4 separate regions of the Homo sapiens genome follow, and all the other regions are linked to region 3. Evidence: promoter capture Hi-C in human tissues and cell types (Jung and others, 2019). All regions are on one chromosome and are shown on one strand. Each heading gives the region's core, a stretch centred on a gene start or on the middle of the fragment in contact. The rest is flanking DNA. Distances are from core to core; before and after follow the strand shown. Region 1 holds the start of GGA3 (golgi associated, gamma adaptin ear containing, ARF binding protein 3). Region 2 overlaps GRB2 (growth factor receptor bound protein 2). Region 3 holds the start of RECQL5 (RecQ like helicase 5). Region 4 holds the start of GRB2 (growth factor receptor bound protein 2).

Region 1 (4,772 bases), core at 1,149-3,648, 410 kb after region 3:
AGGGTTTCTCCTTGTTGATCTCGAACTCCCCACCTCAGGTAATCCATCCACCTCGGCCTCCCAAAGTGCTGGGATTACAGGTGTGAGCCACCGTGCCCAGCCGTTTTTTTTTTTTTTTTTTCTGAGACAAGGTTTCTCTCTCTTGCCCAGGCTGGAATGCAGGGGCGTAATCATAACTCACTGCAGCCTTGACCTCCTGGACTCAAGTGATCCTCCTACCTCAGCCTCCTGAGTAGTTGGGAGCACAGATGCACACCACCACACCTGGCTAATTTTTTTGTTTTTTTTGTAGAGACGGGATCTCCCTATGTTGCCCTGCTGTCTCTTAACTCCTGAGCTCAAGCTATCCTGCATTAGGCTCCCAAAGTGCTGAGATTACAGGTGCAATCCCACTGCACCAGCTAGAAAGCTATCAATCTTGACCCAACTCCCAAGCACCACCTATCTTGTTTCACATGTGGAGGGCCCTGCTTTCTTGCCCTGGCCATTCATTCACCTGGTAGAAACGGCCTCCCTTGAGGATGGGTACCAGCCCAATCATAGGCTCACAGTTTTTCAGTGCTTGATGGAAGATGGTGTAGGGGTTGCGTTCGATGGTTGCCTGTTCCTCTGCAGAAGCGGCATGGTACTTCTCAAACTGCTTCCTTTTCACAGCTTCCAGAGTCTGCAAAAGAATATGGTGGAAGAGGCTGCCCCAGGCTCCCTAAAGGGTTTACCCAGCCAAGCTAGTACCTTGCCCTTTACTCCCATCCTCTGGTTCTGCGCTGGCAATGCAGCTCCTCTCACAGCACATCCAAAACAAAGTTTTTAAGTGCCTCCCCCTTTGCTAGACTAGGACAGAAAGAGTGGATTGAGATTTGTGGCATGGAGGGGGTGGGGGGTGAGGTGGGGAATGGCAGTTGTTTTATTTTTTATTTGTTCCTTTTTTTTTAATTGTGTGTTTACTTCCGAAACACCAAGGAATGGCAGTTGCTGACTCTTACAGGGCTTCATTAAAGCCCGTACACATGCAGGGAAGTTAATCTGAATAATAGATACATGAATCCATTTGCTCTTAAGCTACACTGAAAGTACCAAGTACAAGGCTACGGGGTAGGGGGGCAAGAAAGATGACTGAGGAGGGAAGTGCTGTTTACCTGAATCATGAGGGATCTGGCCAGTACTTTGTTTCCTCCTATCATCATCATGTTGGTGAATTTACTTCAAAGAGAAAAGCAACACGTTTAGCTCTCCAAGGCTGTATCACAGAATCCTCACCAGAAACCCTCCCTGGGATAGTCCCAGTCCATGTAACAAGTGTTTGTTTCCATCTAACCTGATGACTGGGTCTTCAAACACAGAACTTGTTTTCCCTGCTGGAGCAGCTTTGATGAGCTGAGTCTTCTTGAGCTCCCGAACATATTTCTCCTCCTCAGTTAGCTCCTCCACTGGCTTGCGATAATATTCCTTGTCAATCAAGGGATCCTTGAATTCAGGACTATAGCGGCTCCATCTCACCTGAGTTAGCCTGGGAGGGGGGGAAAGGAGGAGGCAGGCAAAAGCTGACTCCACAAGCGAGTAGGTTTGACTTAACAATAGGCATGACTGCCAACGCGCCGACGAGGGGGAGCGGCGCGGAGACCGCGAGCTAAACCTGAGCCACAACAATTCAGGCCCTTGTCCCAAGTAGGAGGACATTCCCCAAGCAGGCGGGTAAAGTCTCCTCCTGGTCAAGTGCTAACGGTAAGGATGGGCTTGGCGCCTACACACCCATCCCAATTCACAGGCGATCCCAGATCTGAGCTCTTTAGCTGAACCGCACTTTCAGCTCCGCGTTAGAACCCTAGATCAGCCAGACTCCTTAGGCGAGAGGTAGTCACTAAACCTTCGGATTGGCGCAGGGTCACGCAGCTAACTTAGAAGCTTGAATCCAGATACTCCGGCCCCCAGGGCAATGCTCTCTCTAGGGGCCCACGCGGCCTGCCTGTGGCCCCCTTCCTTCCTCGCAGCGCCCCCCCGCCGCTGCTCGCCACCCTCTCACCCTGGAAGCTGCAAGACAGCCCGCCGCACGCCCAACGCCAGGCCCGACCATCCTCGGGCAACCTTCACTGCGGGGGCAGCCATCTTGGCTGGCCACGAGGACCCCACAAGGACTGCCCTCGGCGCGCCTGAGCGAGTGACGGGAAACGGGTGAAAAAGACTCCTCAGGGTCCTAAATCTGCGTTTCTCTCCACTGATCTGGACGTTAGAGTTTTTCACTCCGGGGTCCAAAGGGGAGCGCCAAAAGGAAACCCTTGCCCTCCCTGTATCCGTCGCAGTCTGGCGCGGCCCTCGGTGACGGCACTCACTCCTCTCAGGACCCCATGCAGGCCCCGCCCCGTCTCAGCTCGTGCAGACTCTCGCGAGTTTTGAAGCCGCGGGGCCGGGCGGCTGCAATATGGCGGAGGCGGAAGGGGAAAGCCTGGAGTCCTGGCTCAGTGAGTAGCCGCGGCCGTTTCTGCCTGCCCTCGAGCCGCTGGGCTGCCCCTGTCTTCACCCCCACGTCCCCTCCCCGGGCTCCACGGCGTCGCCTCTTGGCAGCCCACGCCCGGTCTCGCCCTCGCCGCGAGCAGCCTGCGATCACGCCCCTTCCCTATCAGGGCGCCGGGCCCCAGTCCGGCCCCCGCTTCCCTCGCTGCGGCGCGTCCTCTTGCTCTGGCGCGCGGCGGCGTGAACTCGGGCTCCTGTCGGGCACCGCAGGCTCGGGGAAAGGCGACAGCCAAGATCTTCGGGCTGACATGCTTCGGCGCTTTGGGGAGATTGTGGTGGGGTCGCCGCCCGGCGGTGACACCAGGAACCCAGCGCCCCAATCCCTGACTAAGGGAGAAGCTTCGGATTGGGGCTGAGTCTCCGGTAGTGGTGGGTGCTGCCGACTGCGTTCAGTCGCCTGGCAGCTTCAGAATTGTGACCATGTGTTGGAGAAGTGACGGCTTCGCTCAGGCAGAATGCTTGAAGTGAGAATAATATTCCAAAGAGAGCGATGATAGAGAACAGAGAGCTCTACCTTTTTCCTGCAGTGACCACAGAAGCATGGTGAAATCGGTGTCGGGAATTCCCCCCCCACACACATACATATACCCCCTTGAATATCCTAACGAGTCAGTGTTGATAGCCTATTCTGAGTAAGGCTGAGGAGCACAGTCTGAAGCTGTAGTTATAGAAGCGTATTGCTGTCATTGCACTGTGAATTACAGTGCTACGAAGGAAATGTGTGTTAACCTGGTTAGCAGGTAGTACTCTGCCTGAGGGTTAATAAGTGAACTTTCCTGTAGGCTAGACCTGGAAGCCTCCTTTAAGTGGAGAGAGAAATTGGACTGGTAATGGGATAGGTGAGATACCTAGTATTGCCTTGTTCTGAGGTCTCTTATTTAGTACTGCTTCCGGGATCTTGGAGGTGATAGCTATTTCCTCAAATTGTCTGATTTTTCCTAGTAAGAAACCCCCTTCAGGAGGTTGAGCTTCAGTTTAAAGGGGAGCATATCCCAAAAGAGAGAAAAAGTAAGATCACGTTTGCAAAATCTGCAGTTGCAGGCAGGTCATAAGGCTTCTTTATATATGGAAGTGTTCTCCAAGGAGCTCAAAGTACTTTACAGATATTCATTAAATTAGTTTACCAAGTATTCTAGCAAAGCAGGCACTACTGCCATAATTTCACAAAAAGAGGACATCCTGACTCCAGTCAAACCACTTGCCCAGAAATGCCCAACTTGCTATAACCAGAGTGGAATTAGTTTGCTTTGAAGGTATTAATATGGGTATTGAATAATTTAAATGACCTAAGCTGAGTTTAATAGGCTACATTTAGAGTTACATTTTGTTTTTGTTACTTGTTTTTGAGACAGAGTCTCGCGCGCTGTTGTCTAGGCTGGAGTGCAGGGGTGCGATCATAGCTCACTGCAGCCTTGAACCCCTGTGCTCAAATAAGTCTTCTACCTCAGCCTCCTGAGTAGCTGGGACTATAGGCACACGCCACCATGCTTGGCTAATTCTTTTGATTTTTAGTAGAGATGAGGTCTTGCTGTGTTGCCCAGGATGGTCTCAAACTCGAGTTCAAGTGATCCTCCCACCTTTCCCTTACAAAGCGCTGGGATTACACACGTGAGCTACCGCACCCAGCCTAGAGTCACATTATGAAATGAGAGGGACACACTTGGTGGGGGGGAGTCACATGGTATCTGTAGAGACATAAGCTTCACAGTTGTTACGACTTAATGTGAACTGTACCAGTTGAACAAACCAGCAGTTGGGGTTCAGCATCGTCTCAGTCAGCGTCCTTGTCACCCCACGTTTGCCTGAATTGTTGCAGAAGCCTCTGCTTGGCCCAGAGACCCAGGTCTCTCCCGTCCTCACCTCTCCTCAGTCCATTCTGCTCCCAGAAGCGCACTTGTGTTGAATCAAATCATTCCACTGTTGCCTGTAATCTGGCCTTGGTTGTTCCAGGCCTTTTTCTCTGTGGCTTCTACGTTTTCCTGCTCTACTCAGTCTGATGTTCTTGGTTTACCAATACACGTTGCTCTCCTTACCTGGAAGCCCTGCTCCCGTTTCCTCAACTAAATGCTTGAAAACCCATCTCAGATTCTCTTTTCTCACAAACCATCTCTTGATGACTTCAGTCTTCTTTCAAGTCCCACCATGATCAATCAATCAATGTTTAATGAGTACCTGCTACGTGGGGTGTTATAGGAGTTAGGAAGTTTAAGAAGATTTTGCCTTTAGTTGGATGGAGGTGATGCTGGAGTGGATGAAGAACTCTC
Region 2 (4,987 bases), core at 1,664-4,163, 340 kb after region 3:
TTTTAATTCCAGTTAGAGTACTTTTTAAACATTATAATTTGTACTTCACTACAATTTATTTTTTTTAATTGAAAATAAAATTGCGTTAATTTTAAGCTGGGGGCAAGAAAACACAGCAGCCATGTCTATGTGACACCAGACAGAAAGGTCTGGAAACCTAAGTGTTAGAACCGCCAACACGTGCTGCCTCTGGGGAGTTTGAGGGAAGCATCTTACTTTTTATGTTTGCTTCATGTACATCTAGGCTATTTCAGTTTATATTCATTATTTTATACCTACAAATGGGAAAAAACCTCCCTAGTGGAGAGATCTTGGGGGCCTAGGAGGAAAGAGAGCCTTGCTGATTGAGAATCTTCACCCTCACCATTGCTATTGGAAGTGGCAGTGGTGGGGAGTGTGGGGCAGTGTGGGGAGAGCCAGCCGAGGCCATGTGTGGATTTTCACTGCTGTACCCAGTCAGATGCATGCTGCATACACTTATATTAGAAACCCAGGGCCCCCCGATATGAGAAGGTTTAAATACCGTTGATTGGGGCCCCCCGATTGAGAAGGTCTCAATACCGTTAAGTGTCCTTATTTATTTATTTATTTATTTATTTATTTATTTTTTGAAAGCGAGTCTCGCTTTGTCGCCCAGGCTAGAGTGCAGTGGCGCGATCTCGGCTCACTGCAAGCTCCGCCTCCCAGGTTCACTCCATTCTCCTGCCTCAGCCTCCTGAGTAACTGGGACTACAGGCACCTGCCACCACGCCTGGCTAATTTTTTGTATTTTTAGTAAAGACAGGGTTTCACCGTGTTAGCCAGGTTGGTCTCGATCTCCTGACTTTGTGACCCGCCCGCCTCGGCCTCCCAAAGTGCTGGGATTACAGGCGTGAGCCACCACACCCGGCCTATTTAATTTTTTTGAGATGGAGTTTCACTCTTGTTGCCCAGGCTGGAGTGCAATGGCACGATCTCGGCTCACCGCAACCTCTGCCTCCCGGAGATTCAAGCGATTCTCCTGCCTCAGCCTCCCGAGTAGCTGGGATTACAGGCATGCGCCACCGCGCCTTGCTAATTTTGTATTTTTAGTAGAGATGGAGTTTCTCCATGTTGGCCAGGCTGGTCTCGAACTCCTGACCTCAGATGATCCGCCCACCTCGGCCTCCCAAAGTGCTGCGATTACAGGCATTGAGCCACCGCACCCAGCCTCCTTTTTTATTTTATTTATTTATATATTTTTTTGAGACAGAGTCTCACTCTTTCGCCCAGGCTGGAGTGCGGTGGCACAGTCTCGGCTCACTACAACCTCTGCCTCCCAGGTTCAAGTGATTCTCCTGCCTCAGCCTCCCGAGTAGCTGGGATTACAGGTGCCCACCACTGTGCCCATCTAATTTTTGTATTTTTGGTAGAGAGTGGGTTTCACCACGTTGGCCAGGCTGGTCTCAAACTCCTGACCTCAAGTGATTCACCCCACCTCAGCCTCCCAAAGTGCTGCAATTACAGGCATGAGGTACCGGGCCCAGCCTGTCCTTTTATATTTAGAGAGCATTCTATTCTAGTGATATGTGATTTCTCTTGTGTGGCCTGATTTCCAGGCACTGCAGGCCCTAGCCTTGAGTTATTTGTAGAAGCAGGAGGATCTATTGTCCCAGCTCCTCAGCATCCTGGCAGTAGAGTATGCAAAATGAGAAAGACTCCAAGCAGGTAGATGTCAGACTATTCAGAGTTACTAAGAGTCCCTAGAGGCTGACACACACACACAAGGACAAAGTTACTAAGGGCAGCTTCTAAGTGTATCCTTCCTAGCAGATCACATCTTTCTGTTTGAATTTGAGTATAGTATATTATTTTAGGTACATCTTCCAATATGGTTGCTTATAAGTAAGATATGTAAATTAGCCGGGCGTGGTGGCTCGCGACTTTAATCCCAGCACTTTGGGAGGCTGAGGCGGGCAGATCTCGAGGTCGGGAGTTCAAGACCAGCCTGGCCAATATGGTGAAACCCCGTCTCTATTAAAAATACAAAAATTAGCTGGGCGTGGTGGTGGCCGCCTGTAATCCCAGCTACTAGGGAAGCTGAGGCAGGAGAATTGCTTGAACCCAGGAGGCGAAGGTTGCAGTGAGCCGAGATCGTGCCACTGCACTCCAGCCTTGATGACAGAGTGAGACTCTATCTAAAAAAAAAAGGGCCGGGCGTAGTGGCTCATGCCTGTAATCCCAGCACTTTGGGAGGCCAAGGCAGGCGGATCAACAAGGTCAGGAGATCGAGACCATCCTGGCTAACACGGTGAAACCCCATCTTTACTAAAAATACAAAATATTAGCCGGGCATGGTGGCGGGCGCCTATGTATAGTCCCAGCTGCTCAGCTACTTGGGAGGCTGAGGCAGGAGAATGGCGTGAACCCGGGAGGCAGAGCTTGCAGTGAGCGAGATCGTGCCACTGCACTCCAGCCTGGGTGACAGAGCTAGACTCCTCAAAAAAAAAAAAAAAGAAAAGATATGTAAGTTAGATTTACAACTTTAATGGACTATTTGGTCCATTAAAAGGACTTTTGATATTATAATTAGCATATTAAATGAATGCCAGTTTCCATGTTTATAGGTCTTTATTTGCTATAACTTTTGCTTTTAAAAATGATAACTAAAGACAATTTTGAGAAGAGAACATGGTTTTCACAGTTTCTTCTTCCTAATTATAGTTTTCATTTGAAATAGTGAGGCAGCTTGACTTGAAGCTCTTGTAGAAGTGTTCCTCTCCTCTTCCTCTTGATAAGCCACAGCCAGTTGCTTCACAGTTTTTCATGAATTTAGCCACTTTTTCTTCTGGCCAAGGTGAATCAGCAATTGGGAGCAGAAGAGTCTGCAACTTGCCTCAAAAATCTGAATTTTGCAGCTAGCTGCTGAGCATATGGTAAATTACAATATTCCTGGTGGCTTCTGAAAGCTGAACTCTGAGCAGTGGCCCCAGAGGCAGGCCTTGAGAGGAATGCTGACCTTAGTTACTGGTAGAGGCACCCTCATACTATCTGAACCTTTTGCCTTTGGGCTGTTAGCAAAAGTAACCCTGCCTCCAGCTCCTGGCCGTCCAGGTTTCCTCCCCACTTTCCCTTAGTCCCACTGTGGTGAAGCTGTGATCTTATCACATGGCTGCAGGAAGGGGCCAGTCTCTCCTTGGCAGTTCATCCCGTACACCAAGCCCAAAGGCCTGAGCTTTTCCCCAGGCGCCTTTGTCATGAGTCAGTAGGGAGTCCAGTGGGCTTTGGCCTGGGGGGCCCATTTTCAAATGTCTCCCTCTATAGAAAGAGTGACCCACGGTTAGTGCCTTGGTGAGTCGCTTTCTGGGAAATGGAGTAGGCTAAAGACCTTTGAAGGTCCATCTCTGGGGACCCAACCCAGTGTCGATCTTGGGCACTGTGAGGCTGGAGGATGAGGAGGGAGGCCCCTTCCTCTGGCAAGGAGTGTTGTGTTACTCACATTTTGAAGGCTGGATATCCCGTTTCTTTGTGGGGAAGCAGATGTTGACCAGCTTGCCTTCCTTCCTTAGGTGGTTTTTTGGCAAAATCCCCAGAGCCAAGGCAGAAGAAATGCTTAGCAAACAGCGGCACGATGGGGCCTTTCTTATCCGAGAGAGTGAGAGCGCTCCTGGGGACTTCTCCCTCTCTGTCAAGTAAGTATTTCCTGCTGCAGTTGCCTGGAATCCTGTCTCTGACTGATCCAAATTGTGAAGCCGTTGGTCAGGTGCCTGGCTACACACAAAATGGTGGAGGCTTAGCCTAAACAGTTTCTTCATTTCACATTAAAATCCTAATTTCTGGCTCCTCTCAAAATGAGTTCTAGAAGCACTGGATGTAGATTCCCATGTGGACACAGCCTTCAGGAGGTGAGCAGCAGCTCCCTGCAGCCAGCTGGAGCCTGCCAGTTTTCCCTAGTGCCCAGCACTCCTGAGCTTCTGCCCTCCAAGGGATTCCCGCAGCTCTCTCTAATGGGATAGTGGAGCGCCTGTCGGCTGCCTTGGCTTGCCTTGCTCAGGTCCACTGACTTAAATCAACCAGCCCCATCCTAGGCCCTCACAGTCACTTAAGAAGGCTGCTGCAGGGGATGTGGGGCTTGCATTTCCCCGGTGGAAAGTTCAGGTGTGAAAGGGAGCGGGTAAGCAGGGAATGGAGAAGACAGGAAGTTCTGCCGCCATGGAGAGTGTGGAGAATAGAAACCAGCACTTGAAGATTCTAAACAATTCACACCTCAGCTGTGAAGTCGGGATTTTGAATTAAATTGTTATTTCCATGTTTTTTACTTTCAGTTATTTTCTAGTTAATGTATTATCATAGGACCCTCCCCAGGAGTCCGGCAGATCACTTCATCAGTTATATATAAAGAAGTAATTAGATTCAACACTCAGATCACTACTTAGTTTAGATTACATTAAGATTGTTTTGTTTTTGAATGGGGGATAGAAAACCATTTTCCTTTTATTTTATTTACTTATTTTTGAGACAGAGTCTCGCTCTGTCCCCCAGGCTGGAGTCCAATGGCATGCCTCAGCTCACTGCAACCTCCACCTCCCAGGTTCAAGCAGTTCTCCCTGCCCCACCCTCCGAGTACCTGGGATTACAGGTGCCTGACACCACGCCCGGCTTATTTTTGTATTTTTAGTAGAGATGGGGTTTTGCCATATTGGCCAGGCTGGTCTTGAACTCCTGACCTCAGGTGATCCACCCACCTCGACCTCCCAAAGTGCTGGGATTACAGGCTGGAGCCACTGCTTCCAGCCACCATTTCCCATTTATAACTGATGTAAAGCGTGAGACTTTTCCATTTCAAAAATGAACTGACCAGCCTGGCCAACATGGTGAAACCCTGTTTCTGCTAAAAATAGAAAATAACCCAGGCATAGTGGCACACACCTGTAGTCCCAGCTACTTGGGAGGCTGAGGCCAGAGAATCATTTGAATCCAGGAGGCGGAGGTTGTAGTGAGGCGAGATGGCGCCATTGCACTTTAGCCT
Region 3 (5,437 bases), core at 892-3,391:
TCCAGCATGGGCGACAGAGCAAGATTCCGACAAAAAAAAATAATAATAGGTTAGCTAGGCATGGTGGCGCCCACCTGTAGTCCCAGCTACTGGGTAGGCTGAGGTGGGAGGATCACTTGCGCCCAGGAGTTCAAGACTGTAGTGAACTATCTATGATCACACCACTGCACTCCAATCTGGACAGCAGAGTGAGACCCTATCTCAAAAAAAAAAAAGAAAAGAAAAAGCAGGTGAAAACGAATTTTCCTTTCTTATCTTGTTAATAAACTGAGAAGACTTAAATGAGCCCCAACCAAGATTAAAAATAATGCAGAGTTGACTGTAGATATAAATGATACACCAGTTAGGATGAATGCCTGCTATAAATGGAGTAAATCATTTAAACAGGGAAAAATCAACATAAAACACCCATTGATATCTGGGTTAAATAAAATAATCCACTATCTTTTCCCCCAAATTTCAATTCAAAGATTAATAAAAAATGATCCATGTGAAAATACATTTTCAAACAGATCTGATATCCAATCCAGTTTCTTCCACTAATACTAAAACAAAACGGGAGAGCAAGGGATGGAGCTAACCATGAAATGGAACACTGTTGGCACAGTTCCAAAATCTGACAAATGAAATTGTGCTTTCAGTAGCTCTGGATCTGGGAGATTTACCTACCGACTGTCTACTGTTCTCATCTTCTTCTTCTTCATAACCATCTTCATCACCCCCTAGACGAGAAAAGTCATCCTCCCCATAGGCATCAGATACCAATCCGCCTTTCTCCTCTGAAAGGTTAAAAAACAAACAAACAAACAAAAAGCAAGAAAAAAAAAACAAGAGTTACAATGTAAGAAAAAATGTCCAGAGATTTGAGTGGCCAAGACTATCTCTGAAGATACAAAGGGAACCTAAATCTCATGTTAAGTTACAATAGGCCCAGATTCGGCTCTCTGAGAAGGCCAGCATTTACTGAATAAAATCATTAAAAGGTCAGGGAACAAAACCGAGTACTAAATTCTGTTTCTAATGCTATAAACACTAGATAAACACTAAAGTGTTTATAGGAAACCATCAGAGAACTTTCTGACTGGAAGAGACCACACAAAATCACAAAACATGGAAGTACCTAACCTAATCCAATCCCCTTCACTTTCCAGATGAGGAAGCTAAGGTCCTGATATGTTGTTAGGTAACTTGTTCTTTATTCTCCCAAAGGAATCTGTTTCCATTATCTAACATTGTGCTTCTCAACCTGAGGAGGAGAACATCACCGTTAGGCTTTAAAAACTCACAAAATAAGAAAAATCACCTGGGATCCTTAAAAAGTTCACAAATGCCCACATCCTACCCCAGTTCTACCGAATTAGGTTCTCTCACTTTGGGCATCAGATACGTTTGTTTTTAAAAGCTCCAAGATGTGTTTAGGGCACATTCCTAACTAAAAGTTATAAAGTTAACGAACACAATCTTTACCATCTTCCACGTATGTTTTACTTATCGCTCTCCCTCATCAAACAACGAGCCCAGGGGAAACAGGCAGTGGCTGAGCAGCCGCTCCCTCTTCGTCCATCCCTCTGTCTATCACTATAGCCGGCACGGAGTCTTTCAGTAAGTTTAGGCAAATTAATCGAAATAACGGGAAGGAGATTCTTCATTCTTAGTCCACAGTCTCTAATGCTCTATCTCACCCCGGACCCTGGACCATTCTTCGGGGTCCGGTGCTTGGAGCACAATGACCATCTTGTTCCCTCCCGCCCAGCGAGGGTACAGCATTCCGGGCAGACACCCGATTCCCCCTTCCAGCTTCGCACTTGGGCCTTACCAGCCGCGCTGCCCACCGCCTCGATTCCAGCCTCGCCATCAGACTCGGGCTCTGAATCTTCCGCGTAAACTGCGAGAGACGACAGAACATTCTTCTTCCCCGCCATCTTATTCCCACAGCCCGGGCGTGGCTCACTCCTATGACTCAAGACGCCGACTTCCGGGCGGAAAGGCAGGTTCTTTCGGATCCCAGGAGACCCCCGCGCCACACTGGAAACCAATCAAAACGGCAGTTTCCTGCGCCTGGCTCCGCCCTCATGCCAGCGCTCGCGCTACGTCATCACTGCGCGACGGATATAAGATTGCGTGGGTTCTGCCTAAAGCTGAATTCCCAGCGCTTTGGCTTCTCTGAGTTGGGGTTGTGTATAGGGGTCTTCGAACAGTTCCGGAACCAGCCAGCAGCCTTTAATTCTTGGGCGGACCACGGCCGGTTCTGATATCTTAGGGTGAAGAGAGGGAGGTGTCGGCCAGCCAAGAGAGAAAATTGCGGATCTTGGGCTCAGGAAGACGGGAGAAGGGGTTCGGGGTCCCGGGGTGGAAGAACGGTCGTCGTGGTTGCGCTTATAGAAGTAGGAGCAGGTGGTGGATCTTAGGAAAACGGTTCCCCGTTCTCCAAGCTGTTCTGAAGACATTTATGTTTCTTCTCTTGATCTGATTTCTAGCTCTGTGCTATACCGTGGCCTGGAATAGTTCAATGTTTTCATTTTCATTGAGCGTAAAAGTGGAGATGTTAATTACTGAGGAATGTATTGCTTGAGGCAGTTCACCTTCAGCTTTATTACTTAAAAATAATACATTATTTAAGTGTAATATAGCAAATTGTTACAGAAAAATAATCTGTATTTTTAATGCAAAACAGAGGGTTCTCGTGGCAACCTTTTACTACCTTTGCCTTAACCTTTGGCCACTGTTCTTGGCTAAGATGAGCAGCCACCATACCACCTTTCCTTTTGACCCTGAGCGGCGAGTCCGGAGTACGCTGAAGAAGGTCTTTGGGTTTGACTCTTTTAAGACGCCTTTACAGGAGAGTGCGACCATGGCTGTAGTAAAAGGTAACATTACCAAGCTACCTTCCTTTAAATTTATGCTGGCTATACCATAACGCTGCGGCAGAACACCCTCCTCCTCACCCTTCGTACTGCCTCACCTTTGGTCCATAACTGGATTTGGAAATCTTTAGAGTTGTCAAAGCTTGTAGTTTCGTTTATTTGTTTTAATTAGAGATGGGGTCTTGGCATGTTGCTCAGGCTGGTCTCCAAATCCTGGGCTCAGGCAATCCTCCCACCTCGGCCTCCCAAGGTGCTGGGATTACAAGCATGAGCCACCACGCCCGGCCCAAAGCTTGTAGTTTTAGTGGCAGAACCACCCAGCTGGTCTATATTTCATAGCTAGATTTACACATGGTCTTTGAAAACACTTCAGATTCTCATTATTGTTCGTTTGTACACACAAACGAACAGCAACAGTGAGGGTGGTAGGAATAACTTAACTCGGTCACTGGCCTCCTAGGTAATTCCCTTGTTGCAGGTTGAGTGGCCTTGGTCCCAGATAGAGAAGGAAAGAGTAATAATGTTATAAACCTGAGATACGGTGACAAATGGAAGTTGCCAAGAGGCGAGCAGCAATGTAATATTAATGATACATGTCTAAACAAAAGCCCTCTAAGTAATGTCCTCTCATGTCTACACAGATGTACCCACTCATCTAGCAGTACTCTGCTTTCATGGCTGTTTAGTTCAATCATCCATATCACAGCAGACTCAGACTTCTTTTTTTTTTTTTTTTTTTTTGAAACAGAGTCTTGCTCTGTCGCCCACACTGGAGTGCAGTGGCGCGATCTCGGCTCACTGCAACCTCCGCCTCCTGGGTTCAAGCAATTCTCCTGCTTCAGCCTCCTGAGTAGCTGGGATTACAGGCACGTGCCACCATGCCTGGGTAATTTTTGTATTCTTAGTAGAGACAGAGTTTCACCATGTTGGCCAGGCTGGTCTCAAACTCTTGCCCTCGTGATCTGCCTGCCTTAGCCTCCCAAAGTGCTGGGATTACAGGCGTGAGCCACTGCGCTTGACCCAGACTTTTTAAATCTTGTTTTTAACCATTACTAGAAATGGTTTGGGCATGTATCCAAGTTTCCCAGGATCCTTGCCTTTTTCATAGAAAGGACAGGAGGGGAATTAGGATTACATCGAGACCCTCCCATGTGCCAGACACTCTGCTAGGTGCTTTTCCTACATTCTCATTTAATTTTCAACAACTTCAATGAAAAGGCAGGAAGCACTGAGATATTGTTGTCTTGTATTTTTTCAGGTAACAAGGACGTCTTTGTGTGCATGCCCACAGGGGCAGGAAAATCCCTATGCTATCAGCTCCCTGCTCTGTTGGCCAAAGGCATCACCATTGTAGTCTCTCCTCTCATTGCTTTGATTCAGGTGAGGCTTAGGGCAATGAAGATGGTAGCCCAAAAAGATTCGGGGAAGGTTTTTTGAGGCTGGAAATTTCACTTCTCTATTGGTCTTTTGCCTCTTATTTTCTTTTCTTTTTCTTTTTCCTTTTTTTTTTTTTTTTTTGAGACAGAGTCTTACTCTGTCGCCTAGGCTGAAGTGCGGTGGTGCGATCTTGGCTCACTGCAGCCTCCACCTCCCGGCTTCCAGCAATTCTTGTGCCTCAGCCCCCCATATAGCTGGGATTACAGGTGTATGCCACCATACCCGGCTAATTTTTGTATTTTTAGTAGAGATGAGGTTTCACCATGTTGGCCAGGCTGGTCTCAAACTCCTGACCTCAAATGATCCGCCCACCTCGGCCTCCCAAAGTGCTGGGATTACAGGTGTGAGCCACCACACCCGCCCCTGCCTCTTATTTTCTATGATTTGCCTATCTCATTCGCTATATTGGGTTTCTGTATTTCCCCAATGTAGTGTTCTCCACTGGTGCATATCACTCTGGGAGGTTATGAATGACTCCTCTGAGGTCCCTCACCCTCCTTTGTTATTTTTTTGTTCAGAGGAGTATGAAACTGTATTTGTACACACATATACACTCAGTCTCATGTATACACACACGTGCACTCGTGATGTTGAGACAGAAGTTGCAGATGGATAGATAGCTAAGTTGATATGGGGAATCCCTGGTGTCCTGCTTATTTTGGTAAGGGCACAGTATGTGAAACAGAAAAAAAGATGAGAAACTGTCTGGGACCTTATTAACATCTGCTCTACAGGTGTTCTGACTATTTAAGGCCTGCAGATGGGCTGATAGAATCAGAATTGAGGAAGTGTGGCTGTGTGGGTAAGAGCCATCCACCATGAAGGAAGGTAGAGAGGGAACTACAGTAATAACTTGGTGAATGTTCACCAGGTCCCAGGCTTCGTGCTAAGTGCTTTACATACATTAATTTCTTTCTTTCTTTTTTTTTTTTTTTTTTTGAGATGGAGTTTCGCTCTTGTTGCCCGGGCTTGAGTGCAATGGCGTGTTCTCGGCTCACCGCAACCTCCGCCTCCCGGGTTCAAGCAGTTCTCCTGCCTCAGTCCCCCGAGTAGCTGGGATTACAGGCATGCGCCACCATGCCTGGCTAATTTTGTATTTTTAGTAGAGACAGGGTTTCACCATATTGGTCAGTCTG
Region 4 (5,354 bases), core at 1,367-3,866, 260 kb after region 3:
ATCTATTGCCAGTTTATTTCAGCAGACTCAAACTGTCAGAGTGGAAGGGAAAAATTCCCTTCACCCTTACAATCATCTCCTCACCTGCCCTTCCCTGTTCTCTGTGCCTGCCCCCTCCAGTCAGCTATGCCTCTTGACTGGCAAATTTCTGTGTTCTCCCTGTTATCCAGGCCCACTCAAAACAAAAAACTGCAATTCTTCCCTCATGTCTTCCTCTCTGCTTAGCAGCTAAGTCCCTCCCTTCCATTTCTATTTTTTTCTGACTGCTATTTTAGAACAAAGTGGCATAGTGCGGGAAAAAAATGAGGATTTTAGAACAAGACAGGCCTTAGTCCAAATCTTAGGTCTACTATATTTTGGCTTCCTTGGGTAAATTACTAACCTCTCTAAGGCTTAGTTTCCAAGTCTGTAAAATGGGGATATTACCCACCCTGTGGAGGCGCTATGACTTAAGTATGCATCAAGTGGTAAATAGAGGGTCCTTTTCTTATTTTCACCTCATATCAGACACCTCCTGCTCAGAAACCTTCAGAGGTTGCCCATCACTTGACTATGACACCTAAGCCATGCATTTTGCATTTTGGCCCCTCTCTCTCATCACTCTTCCCCCCAATTACTGGGGCTTGGACTAATCAAAAACATTGGTTGATGGCCAGGAGTGTTGGCTCACATCTGTAATCCCAGCACTTTGAGAGGCTGAGGCAGGTGGATCACCTGAGGTCAGGAGTTCGAGACCAGCCTGGCCAACATGGCGAAACCCTGTCTCTATTAAAAATACAAAAATTAGCTGGGTGTGGTGGCAGGCTGCTGTAATCTCAGCTACTTGAGAGGCTGAGGTGAGAGAATGCTTGAACCCAGGAGGCGGAAGTTGCAGTGAGCCAAAATCATGCCACTGCACTCCACTCCAGCCTGGGCAACAGTGCAAGTCTCAAAAAAAAAAAAAAAACCAAAAAAACAGGCATGGTGGCTCACGCCTGTAATCCCAGCACTTTGGGAGGCCAAGGTGGGCGGATCACCTGAGGTCAGGAGTTTGAGACCAGCCTGACCAACATGGAGAAACCCCATCTCTACTAGAAATACAAAATTAGCTGGGTGTGGTGGCACATGCCTGTAATCCCAGCTACTCGGGAGGCTGAGGCAGGAGAATCCCTTGAACCCGGGAGGCGGAGCTTGCGGTGAGCCAAGATCGCGCACCATTGCACTCCAGCCTGGGCAACAAGAGCAAAACTCCGTCTCAAAAAAAAAAAAAAAAAAAAAAAACAAAAGGCTGATTCCATTACTCTTTCCTCTTTCCTCCCTGCTTTCACTTTGCCGTTCAAACCAAATCCTTCTTGATTAGCTCAGCACCAAGTACTGGCTCCCTCCTCAGCCATCCCTATGTGTAGTTCAGTGGCACTTGGGGCCAACTGCTTGTCTTACAGATTAGGCAACTCTAGATTACAAAGCACTGAAAGCAGGGGCTTCATCTGGTTGGTCTTTGACCCTGCAGAGCCCCTTGCACACAGGTGATGCTCAATAAATACTTGGTGAAAGCACAATTCATTTTCTGTGTTTCAATGGGCTTCTTTTCTCTATAGAATCAGATGCTTGGTTATTCTCACCTCAGCGCTATTTTGTTGGCTTCCAGAAGGCACAGTAACGCTAGGTGTGTTGTGTTCTATCCTTTAATTGGAAGAGCTTTGGGAACTGAAAAATAAGAATTATTTCTCCAAGCCTCATCTTCTGCCACTCCCCCGTACTCACCGGCCTCATACAGGAATTGAACTACTTAGCACTGCACAGAACACGACTTTCTCTCTCACGCCTCCGTTCCTCTGTACTTAGCCTCTGTACTTACGTGCCATTCCCTTTCCCTGAAATGCCCTTACTCTGGCTTCTCTGCCTGGCAAATTCCTACTCATCCTCCAAGACTCAGATCAGACATCGCCGCATCACATCTGTGAAGGCTCTTCTGCAATGGGCAGTGTAGCAGTACCCCCTCCATTTTTTTAGCTTCCTCAGCAAACTCCAAATAATTATAACAGTACTTATGGCATTATTTGTTTATTTTTCTTCTACTTCCTAGACCGTGAATTCCTTAAGGGCCAAGATTTCTGTTCTATCCCCAGCACAGTGTTCGGCCTATATTGGAGAATCCGGTCCGTACAAACTCTGCAGTGATTCAATCAATGAGCAAACAAACTCACCAATCATTCAACACAGCAGAGTTTGTACGGACCGGATTCTCAAATATTTTAAGACCTGGTCCTCTATTTGGAGTGCTTCATTCTGGAAGATCTCTTCCTCCCCCAAGCCCCTACCCATCCAACTGCCTAGGTTTGGTAGAAGAGGAAAATAAAGTGATTAGACGGGGGAAGAGTCCTTCAGGGCTAAGCTGTCATTTACCCGCTCTGGCACCGAGAGGGTTACGGCGACCCGGGGGCGGAGCCGTGCGGAGGCCACCTGCTGCGGGGAGGTCTGGCGCATGCGCCCTGACACCTAGCTGGTTCCCTACCCGCAGGGGCCCGGCTGAGGAGGAGCGCTTGCGCTCTGGGCCTTTTCCGCCGGGGGAAGTCTCGCGGGGGCGGGGCGGGGCCTCGTGGAGAAGTTCTCGCGGGACACCGACGGGGAGCGGAAGCCAGGAGGTATTGCTGCTTCGGCGACCGGGCGGCGGCAGCGGCGGCGGCGGCTGTGGCAGAGTCTGTGCCTGTGGCGGTGACGGCGGCGGGAGCAAGCGCTGCCCTCGCAGAGCAGCCTTGGGGTCGCCGGCCGCTCGCAGCGTTGTGGAGGGGCGGGCCGGACGCTGAGCGGAGCAGCTGCGCCACGGTGAGTACGGGAGGCTGCGCTCGGCGCCTCTCTCGTGCCTTTTCCTCTTGGCTCTACAGCGGGAGTGGGCCCCGGGGGAACCGGGACCGGCCCCGGGGTTCGCGTCGGGGCGGCGAGGCTTGGGACGTGGAGCGCAATCCCCGGGGCTCCGGACTCTACGTTTCCCCTTTTGGGGCGCTTCCTTCCTGGGGACCGTCCTCCTCCGGCTCTTGGCTCTGGGCAGTCCGGGGGAAGAGGTCGGGGTTCTCTGGCGAGGTCCCCTGCCTTCATCGGGAGGGTTTGCACGGAAGGGGCCCGGGAAGCCCAGGCGGGCCGAACGCCGACCGAGTCAGTCTACCCGAGCCTGGCGGCGGGGGACTGGTGTGGGCTGCAGCTGTGGTGATTGATGTGCCTTCGACCTGCACGGCAACCACGTCACCATCTCCTGGCGTCTTTGGGCTTAATTTTGTGCGGGAATCCACTTTGGGGTGGAACGTTTGCTGCTGGAGCCGGGGGAGATACCTTTATTCTGACACTTAAAAAAAAAAACTATTTGAAAAATATTTGTCAAGAAAAATTCAGCAGTAGCAGGTTGGACTGCACCGAGGAAGGATTGCGGCGAGAGCGGGCGCTGGTAATTTTCATTTGCAGCGCGCCCTCTCTATGATTGTAAGCCACACATGAGTTATGGCTTGTTTAGAAAGTTTTTCAAGGCTGGCTTCAAACGCTGTGAAAGTGCAGTTTGCAGGGGACTGAAGTGCACTTGAGGTCTGTCTCTTTTTGATGCTGTTGACTTTCCGAAATGTCAGACACATGAGAGAAATTAGCATTAGTCTATTTTGGCTTTCTTACTCCTCTTTCTCCAGTTATTTCCTTCCTTCTCTATCTGCTTCTGTCCTTTCCACTAGGGACACGAAATGCTTGTGTAATGCAAGTCATTTGCCCCTTCCTCCCCCCACCCCCCCCTTTTTTTCTAATGTACTTCCCCTTCCTCCTTGTAGTCCCCACTCTGGCGTAATTTTTCGAGGTTTCTTCCCTTTCGTGCTGTTCGTTTTCTCTCATTTCAAGATTCCGTCTTTTTCCTCGGGAAGAGACTCTCTTTCCTTGCTTTCGTTCCTTTACTTTTGCGCGTCCCCTGCGTTCCCTGCAGTCAGCCAGAAGGGTTGCTAGAGAGCCGTGGGAGGCTGAAGTCCCCTCTCTGAGAACGGGGAGGCTCAAAAGATTGAATTCATCCCTAAGAAATCAGTCCTGCCACTAGGTCGCAAGTGTGGTTTGCTTGTATTATTTTTGTCTTTTACTCTTTTTCTTTTAAGATTATGCTTCTGTGCCTGCTTATGTTTTCTTCTAGTATGTCTTTATAATAGGAAGATTGGGTCAGCTCAGTGACTTTTTTTTTTTAGGCAGAGTTTTGCTCTTTTTGCCCAGGCTGGAGTGCAATGGTGCTATATGGGCTCACTGCAACTCTGCCTCCTGGGTTCAAGCGATTCTCCTGCCTCAGCCTCCCGAGTAGCTGGGATCACAGGCGCCCACCACCATGTCCAGCGAATTTTGTATTTTTAGTAGAGATGGGGTTTCACTGTGTTGCCCAGGTTGGTCTTGAACTCTTGACCTCAGGTAATCCACCCGCCTTGGCCTCCCAAAGTGTTGGGATTACAGGCGTGAGCCACCGCGCCCGGCCAGAGTTAATTCTTATAATCAGCTTTCTTCTACTAAACACAAGCATTTATTTATTTATTTTATTTTTTTGAGACGGAGTCTCGCTCTGTCGCCCAGGCTGGAGTGCAGTGGTGCGATCTCGGCTCACTGCAGCTTCCACCTCCTGGGTTTAAGCGATTCTCCTGCCTCGCACTCCCGAGTAGCTGGGATTACAGGTGCTCACCACCACACCTGGCTAATTTTTGTATTTTTGTAAAGACAGAGTTTCACCATGTTGGCCAGGCTGGTCTCGAATTCCTGACCTCAAGTGATCTGCCCATCTCAGCCTTGGGATTACAGACATGAGCCACTGCGCCCGGCCTGAACTCAAACGTTTAAATGTTTGAGGCACTTTACTTCGTCAGCAAGTTATTCAGATTTGAGAGGCTTGCTGGGTTTTAAATACTACTGGTTGATGGTACTTAGAGATTCTTCTCAGTAATTGCTGTTATCATGTTGCATGTTGTCCATCAGAGTTCTAATTGTTACACATACAACAGAAGAGGAATGGATTTTGGAGAAATGAAGTAATACAGAATAGAGAGTCACCATGCCCTCCGGAGAGAAATTAATACTTGCTTAATTCAGAGGAACTCTCCACCATTACTGAATGGCTTTTGAGAGTCTGTATATATATATATATTTATATATATATATATTTTTTTTGGTCAAAGTTGCCTTTTTCCTAGTTGTGCCAAGTGAATACGCATTATTTTCTTTTTCCTTTTTTTTTTTTTTTGAGACAGATTCTCGCTCTTGTTGCCCAGGCTAGAGTGCAGTGGCACGATCTCAGGTCACCACAACTTCCACCTCCTGGGTTCGGGCAATTCTTCTGCCTCAGCCTCGCTAGTAGCTGGGATCACAGGCATGCACCA

The links. The method cuts DNA at HindIII sites, captures the fragments that hold promoters and counts their contacts. A contact is called where the count stands out against the background at its distance.
Region 1: a contact is called between the fragment with the promoter of GGA3 here and the fragment with the promoter of RECQL5 in region 3, in 1 of the 25 tissues and cell types used here (aorta).
Region 2: a fragment that was not itself captured here is called in contact with the fragment with the promoter of RECQL5 in region 3 in 1 of the 25 tissues and cell types used here (psoas muscle).
Region 4: the fragment with the promoter of GRB2 here is called in contact with the fragment with the promoter of RECQL5 in region 3 in 2 of the 25 tissues and cell types used here (dorsolateral prefrontal cortex and pancreas).

What each region holds. Positions count from the first base shown.
Region 1 is chr17:75,259,232-75,264,003 of GRCh38, reverse strand. GGA3 (golgi associated, gamma adaptin ear containing, ARF binding protein 3) reads left to right here and starts at 2,398. Exons shown (of 17, transcript NM_138619.4): 1 at 2,398-2,456. The coding sequence starts at 2,417. It overlaps MRPS7 (mitochondrial ribosomal protein S7), which reads right to left and starts at 2,125. Exons shown (of 5, transcript NM_015971.4): 1 at 2,021-2,125; 2 at 1,316-1,507; 3 at 1,137-1,200; 4 at 497-664. The coding sequence starts at 2,103. RefSeq lists enhancers at 1,339-2,216, 2,013-2,422, 2,893-2,992. The HindIII fragment of the contact is 1,153 bases long and covers 2,376-3,528 here.
Region 2 is chr17:75,324,561-75,329,547 of GRCh38, reverse strand. It overlaps GRB2 (growth factor receptor bound protein 2), which reads left to right. Exons shown (of 6, transcript NM_002086.5): 4 at 3,528-3,650. Among named protein-coding and RNA genes, the nearest start is that of SLC25A19, 38 kb to the right of the region's middle. RefSeq lists an enhancer at 2,169-2,669. The HindIII fragment of the contact is 7,256 bases long and covers 1-4,987 here.
Region 3 is chr17:75,663,858-75,669,294 of GRCh38, reverse strand. It overlaps RECQL5 (RecQ like helicase 5), which reads left to right and starts at 2,141. Exons shown (of 20, transcript NM_004259.7): 1 at 2,141-2,251; 2 at 2,724-2,867; 3 at 4,123-4,244. The coding sequence starts at 2,738. It overlaps SAP30BP (SAP30 binding protein), which reads right to left and starts at 1,957. Exons shown (of 11, transcript NM_013260.8): 1 at 1,817-1,957; 2 at 670-779. The coding sequence starts at 1,922. RefSeq lists enhancers at 1,716-1,965, 2,136-2,235, 1,817-3,016. The HindIII fragment of the contact is 12,020 bases long and covers 1-5,437 here.
Region 4 is chr17:75,402,940-75,408,293 of GRCh38, reverse strand. It overlaps GRB2 (growth factor receptor bound protein 2), which reads left to right and starts at 2,616. Exons shown (of 6, transcript NM_002086.5): 1 at 2,616-2,805. MIR3678 (microRNA 3678) reads right to left here and starts at 2,225; the gene lies at 2,132-2,225. RefSeq lists a silencer at 2,379-2,558. The HindIII fragment of the contact is 9,537 bases long and covers 1-5,354 here.